Linked DNA regions of Homo sapiens: region 1 is linked to region 2. The links are contacts of gene promoters, found by promoter capture Hi-C in blood cells and fetal thymus (Javierre and others, 2016). All regions are on one chromosome and are shown on one strand. Each heading gives the region's core, a stretch centred on a gene start or on the middle of the fragment in contact. The rest is flanking DNA. Distances are from core to core; before and after follow the strand shown. Region 1 overlaps SYNE1 (spectrin repeat containing nuclear envelope protein 1). Region 2 holds the start of GINM1 (glycosylated integral membrane protein 1).

Region 1 (3,233 bases), core at 268-2,767, 2.9 Mb after region 2:
ACAAGAAAGTGAGTCCGTATTATTTAAAACAAATAGGAAAACATTTGTAGAGTTGAAAAAGAGAATAAAAGAGTATTTGTTATAAATGTGCTTCCAATATTCCTACATAAAAATAAATATAATTTACAATTTTGTAGTCATCTAATGGATTCTCTTCCTTATCATTTCCCTAAATTTTGAATTTTCTTGTCTAATTTCTGCTTCCTCTATTTCAGTTTTACCAACATCCTTTGTTTTCGAAGCCTATCCTTTATCTTCACTAAGATCCTCCTTTTTACATGTTGTCATTTGTTTTCCACAGAAGCCTTCCAGTTTCTTCTTCTTTTATCCTATCTTTTTTCTTTGACTCTCTTCTGATCTAAGTTTTTCCAAGGAGAGCAATCTGTTCTCCAAACAAGCAGCAATGAGACCTTACGAAAACCACAAACTCCCAATTTCAATATAAATCAGAGCAAATCTATTGAAATAATGACTCTTCACTGTATCTTGTGCATCCACCCACAGTCTTTTTTTTTCTTACACTGGACAATTGCAAACACATTGTGTTCAACATTAATTTAAATACTAAATGAATTATTATCAAAGAAAGGGGCTGAATGTGCCACATCCATCTCTTCATACAAATCTATCTGTAAACAAAATGTGTTTTTCTCCTTTCCTCTCTTTCTGCTTTCACTAAGTAAGTGATCAAGTAGTGGAAAAGGGTATTAATATAAATTATGCAGAAGTTTAAGGCAGATGAGTGTGTAAAAAATTAATGTCTGTATGAACATTCATTAGAGAGAGATTCTTACTATAAGTCCTGGGGCAAAATCATGACAGTACTTGGAAGATAAAGCAAATGGCCTTGGTAAATGTTAGGGAAACTACTGACTTCTAACTTTAAAGACAGTCAATTTTTTTTTTTTTTTTTTTTGGTGAGACAAAATATATTACAAGCTTGTCTGTGAATAACGACAAGTATTTGTTTGATCTTGGCTCAAAGATCACCTTCATGTACACTAACTTTTTAGAATGTTGTTTTTGCTTTTCCTGTCACCAAAAGAGGGAAGGAAAGAGCAAAACAGGCAACTGGCTAAATGTGGCCGTTGCTTTGAAAGATGGATAATCAAAGGATTGAAATAGGTTATGTTCCAAAATTTGATTAATCATAGAACTATTTTCAATTTGTCAAAAACTCATAGGGAAACTCTAATTTATATATAAAAATTCTCACATAAAACTAAAATCGTAAGCAGTTCAGAGTATTTTTGGCTTATGTAAATTCAGCACTAGAGTCTCAAGCAGATTTAAATGGATTAAAAACATGAAGGTTAACAGATGAATTGTTAGATGAGAAATCTCTGTGGAGAATTTCAGATTTTCAGAAACAGAGCTTTGTGGTCATTTTCTTGTAATCCATTAGGCCATTTTTCCATGCAAGTTTCTACTTAAATGATTTCAAGAAATACTGGTAAATATCTATTCTACTTTACGTTCTTACATTATCTTCCAAAGCACAAACTTAGATTTATATAAAAACCTGGTCAGTAAAAATATTTTTGCTGATGGTGGAAGTGGCCCTACTGGAAATGAAGTAGATGCGTTTGTATATTTTAATCTATAAAGGAATATAGAAAAACATTAAAATGCATATCAAAGCACTAGGAAGAGAATTTCACTGGCCTGCTGATTAAACACTGAATATTTTATTATTACTAAGAACCAGCTATTGAGCATTTACTCTGTTTCAGGAACTACACTATGTGCTTAACATACATTACTGCATTTAATTCATGATACTTCTTTTTAGAGTGAGTATTTTTAACCCTGTGTTATAAATAAGGAAATCAAGACCTAGATGTTACGTAAGTTGAAGGTTACCTAGGAGGTAGGGTATCACATTTAAACTCTAATCCTGGATTTCTTTGACCCTAAGCCTTATTCTTAGCCTCCATGATTTATCTTAAGCTGACCATAAAATAACAATGCTTTTTATAAGAGTAAAAACAGTGGATTTGACAAGTTTTATATTTCAGATATAGGTCATGAACCTGAACTAACATTTCCAATAATGGCACAGACCATACATCAAACATCCTCTTCATCTTTCCCAACAAGCTTCATACAAAAAAAGCATAACAACAATTCTGTTTCAACTATGGTTTCTTTATAAAATTACTTGCTAAACTACAACCAGAAGAAAAAGAACCTTCCAGATGCCTCACTCAGAACTGTCTGTTTAGAGTGTGAGTAAATGCTGTACCTCTGACAGCAGCGTCACAAGAGCCTTGAAAGAGCTGGATAATTTTGCCAGCTCATCTCCCTGCTTTTGGGCTTCATTCTCAGAAGAAACTTCTGTCAAAACTTTCAGCCTGGATTTCAGCCAGCTGAGGGTCTCACCCCTTTTGGTAACACCATTTCTGATCTCCTGAAATGAGAGAACACTTTTGATGAACACAGTGCAATTGTGAAATCATAACTTTCCAGCAATAAAGGACTCAGCCTAAAAAGGTTTGCAGGTGGAGCAGAATAGAGCCAGACATCATTCAGCAATACAGTGCCTGCTTAGTTTACTTTTTGTATGTACTTTTAACAAAAGTCCACAAGTGCTTGAAAGAAAACTGTTGTCTATTCTTGAATCAGCTTCATAATTAGATTGGTTAGATACTTATAGATATGTCCTTGATGGGAAAAAAGATGATTCTAAAAATACTGTAGAAAAATATGAGACGCCACAATTGGCAACTATAACATACATACACTTTGTTATCTCACTTCCTTTGAGCTGGAAAGAAGATGATATTTTGTGAAAAAATAATGAAAGTTCTTTTTTTCAACCAGCTGATTTCTTTTATTGAAGAGTCTACTTGTTGAATATTGTTATGGATGCTCTAAAGATTTATTTTAACTTCATTAACTTACATTTTCTGCTGAATTTTTATTAGCTTTTAGAAGCCAGTATCCCATATAGCAAGAAGTATAAATGGGAGCACAGCTCTAATTTAGGAAGCGAGGCTTTATTGATAAGAAAATGCTAGAAAGACTCCAGGGCTTCAGACCTTGAAGGGCTGCTGACTGAGGGAGTGGTGACTGGAGCAGCCTGTCCTCCCTACAGCAGTTCTGGGGTGGCTCAAGAGCAGGGGTCCCCAACCAGGGCCACTCCAGGGCTTTGCCAGGGCAAATGCACACCAGCCAGGAAACTGTTGGTTCCAGACCCCAGTGATCTCTTCATTCTAGGATGTGAATTTTTT
Region 2 (2,875 bases), core at 376-2,875:
TGGAGACGGAGTCTCGCTCCACCGCGCAGGCTGGAGTGCAATGGCGCGATCTTGGCTCACTGCAACCTTCGCCTCCTGGGTTCAAGCGATTCTCCTGCCTCAGCCTCCCTAGTAGCTGGAATTACAGGTGCGTGCCAGTATGCCTGGATAATTTTTGTATTTTTAGTAGAGATGGGGTTTCACCATGTTGGCCAGGCTATTCTCGAACTCCTGACCTCAAGTGATCCACCCGCCTCGGCCTCCTAAAGTGTTGGGATTACAGGCGTGAGCCACTGCACCCGGCTTCTAGATTCCTTTTTTTTTTTTTTTTTTTAATAGACTCAGGCGATCCTCCTGCCTGCGTTTGCTGCATAGCTGGGAGTACAGGCACAAATGACCACGCCCATCTCCAAATTCATTTTTAATTCCAGCAGTAGGAAAAAAAGGAAAAGGCCAAGTTTGCAGATGGAACCCAGAAGTGTGTGGGGCTTCGCTGTGAAATCACTTGTAGCTTAACAATGGCGTGGGGAATCTCAGAGTAAGCCCGGAGTTAGTTGAAAGGAGTCTTTAGCCAAAACGTTTATAATTTATTCTGGGGCGGGGCCGGGGGAGGGGGCGGTGGCGGTCAGCAGGCCTGTGGGAGGAGGGTGTTCAAAGGAGTAAAGGGGGCTCAAAGAGAGAAATAGATTCTTGTTTCCTTTTTCATGTCAAAAGTTTTATTTCATGTCAAAAGTTTTATTTCAAAGGAAGACTAAATATTACTCTTATTCTGCCTGAATGGCCAAGTTTCCAAGTTTTTCTCAATCAACATGCAATCCTGTTAATCTAAAATGCTTGAATTTCTTGCTACTCTGCTTTACAGGGTTCCGTAACTTTTTTTTTTTTTTAAATCTGCAAGGTGGAAGAAAAGTCTAACACTTTCACTTTAGAGTTACGATACTGACCAAAAAGGCACTGACAGCCCAGGTGCGCTGGCTTCCTTCCAGCTGAGCGCTGTCCCCGCGCCGCCTCCAGGGGTCGGCAGAATGCTGAACAGTAAGCATGGCGCATCCTCAACCTTGGCCCCACAATGAATCACCCGAGAAAATTAAAAAACCACCAGGGCCCGAGCCGCAGCCCAGGCTGGAAAGTGGGGTGTTCAGGAAGACCCCAGTACTTTTTAAAGCTGCCCGGGAGAGTCCCACGTGCAGCCAAGGGTGGGGAATTACCCACTTAATAAAAACTTCCCCTGTAAATGCGATGTTTCATTTTTAATGTATAACAGTTTTCTGAAATATTACCGTTGTTTTCATCGTATAGGTACATGTACATGTGCACACACAGACACATGCATGTGTGTAAATACTAATTTTAAAAATAATGGTTACGAGGACATTTACATCGCTCCAGTTGGAGTCCTGTCCAATCCTGAGGGCGGGTCTAATGAGGGGCCGTACCTTCCAAGATTTCACTCCGCCCCTCGACGCCGCGCGGCGCTGCGCGTGCGCAAACGCCTTTCCCTGGCGAGCCGGATCTCGGAGCGTCCCCGCGCCTCTCCGCGGCCGCCCGGGGAGGGGAGGGCCCGTCCCGCCCCTCCCCGTCTCTCCCCGCCCCTCCCCGTCCCTCCCGCCGAAGCTCCGTCCCGCCCGCGGGCCGGCTCCGCCCTCACCTCCCGGCCGCGGCTGCCCTCTGCCCGGGTTGTCCAAGATGGAGGGCGCTCCACCGGGGTCGCTCGCCCTCCGGCTCCTGCTGTTCGTGGCGCTACCCGCCTCCGGCTGGCTGACGACGGGCGCCCCCGAGCCGCCGCCGCTGTCCGGAGCCCCACAGGTAGGGCAGGGCGGGCCTGGCTGGCCGCTTTACGACTCCGACTCTCCGGGAGGCCCGGGCTGTCCACAGTGACGCTTCCCACATCCCACCGGCGGGCAGGGGCGGGGGTCCGGGCCCCCGAAGGAGGTGTGGGGAGAAGCACCCCAGGAAATGGGGGCGGCGTGGGAGGCCGAGGTAAGAGGAAAGGGACCCACTGGGGCTGCGTCGCTGTGAGTGAGCCTCGAGCCACTCCACACCGACTCTCCGGCGGCCCAAGCCGGCGCGCGACCTGACGGGGCTTTGCCGTCGAAGCGCGCGGTTGCCGGTGATCAGGCCTTCGTAATGGCGCCTTCCCGGGGTAGAGCCAGCGCTTGGGCAAGGAATGTTTGTGTGCTCGGGAAGTGTGGAAGTTGCCCACTTCGCGCATTTCCAGGCCACTTGTGCCTGCTCGGCCTGCGATCGCGAGGGTCCGCCGTTCCGAGGCTGCGGGGCTCCGCCGGGCTCAGGTGGGCAGAGGGAGAGACCTGGCCCTCGCGCGACGTAATGTTTTTGTCGGATGTTGGAGGAGAAGTTCTCACGGCGGGGCGCGATCGGCGGTGTCCGCATCCCCTGGGGACTCAGCCCGGCCTCTGGGGGCGGGGCCCAGCAGTCCGGGTTGGAGAGTCCTGCAGGTGCTTCTGATGCCAGCTGAGGTGGGAGAATCGAGGCATCCTAACATTAAAACGTGGCTGATGCTCACCATTCCTGCCGTAGAGTCGTGCCTACCTAGGCCAGTATCAGCCTTTTTTCAGTAGAATGGTAGGGAAAAGTTTGAATATTTTAAAGAGCAAGTGTTCTGAGAATGACAAGAAACTATGTCGGTACACCTCTTCCTAGTCAAGACTTGAATATGAACACTCTAAATACAAAGGCGAAGGGCACGGTAAGTGTCACTTTGACCAACAAGGTGAAACCCCGTCTCTACTAAAAATAGAAAAATTAGCTGGGCGTGGTTGCAGGTGCCTGTAGTCCCAGCTACTCGGGAGGCGGAGACAGGAGAATTGCTTGAACCCGGGAGGCAGAGGTTGCAGTGAGCCGAGATCGTGCCACTGCATTCCAGCCTGGGTGAGGG

Evidence for each region. Contacts are between HindIII fragments. The CHiCAGO score rates a contact against its expected background, and 5 or more counts as called.
Region 1: a contact is called between a fragment that was not itself captured here and the fragment with the promoter of GINM1 in region 2, in 1 of 17 cell types (neutrophils). The highest score is 5.4, in neutrophils.

The regions. Positions count from the first base shown.
Region 1 is chr6:152,445,213-152,448,445 of GRCh38, forward strand. It overlaps SYNE1 (spectrin repeat containing nuclear envelope protein 1), which reads right to left. Exons shown (of 146, transcript NM_182961.4): 29 at 2,246-2,410. Among named protein-coding and RNA genes, the nearest start is that of SYNE1-AS2, 45 kb to the left of the region's middle. The HindIII fragment of the contact is 1,161 bases long and covers 938-2,098 here.
Region 2 is chr6:149,564,750-149,567,624 of GRCh38, forward strand. It overlaps GINM1 (glycosylated integral membrane protein 1), which reads left to right and starts at 1,626. Exons shown (of 8, transcript NM_138785.5): 1 at 1,626-1,785. The coding sequence starts at 1,666. RefSeq lists enhancers at 793-922, 2,173-2,222 and a silencer at 1,353-1,902. The HindIII fragment of the contact is 6,228 bases long and covers 1-2,875 here.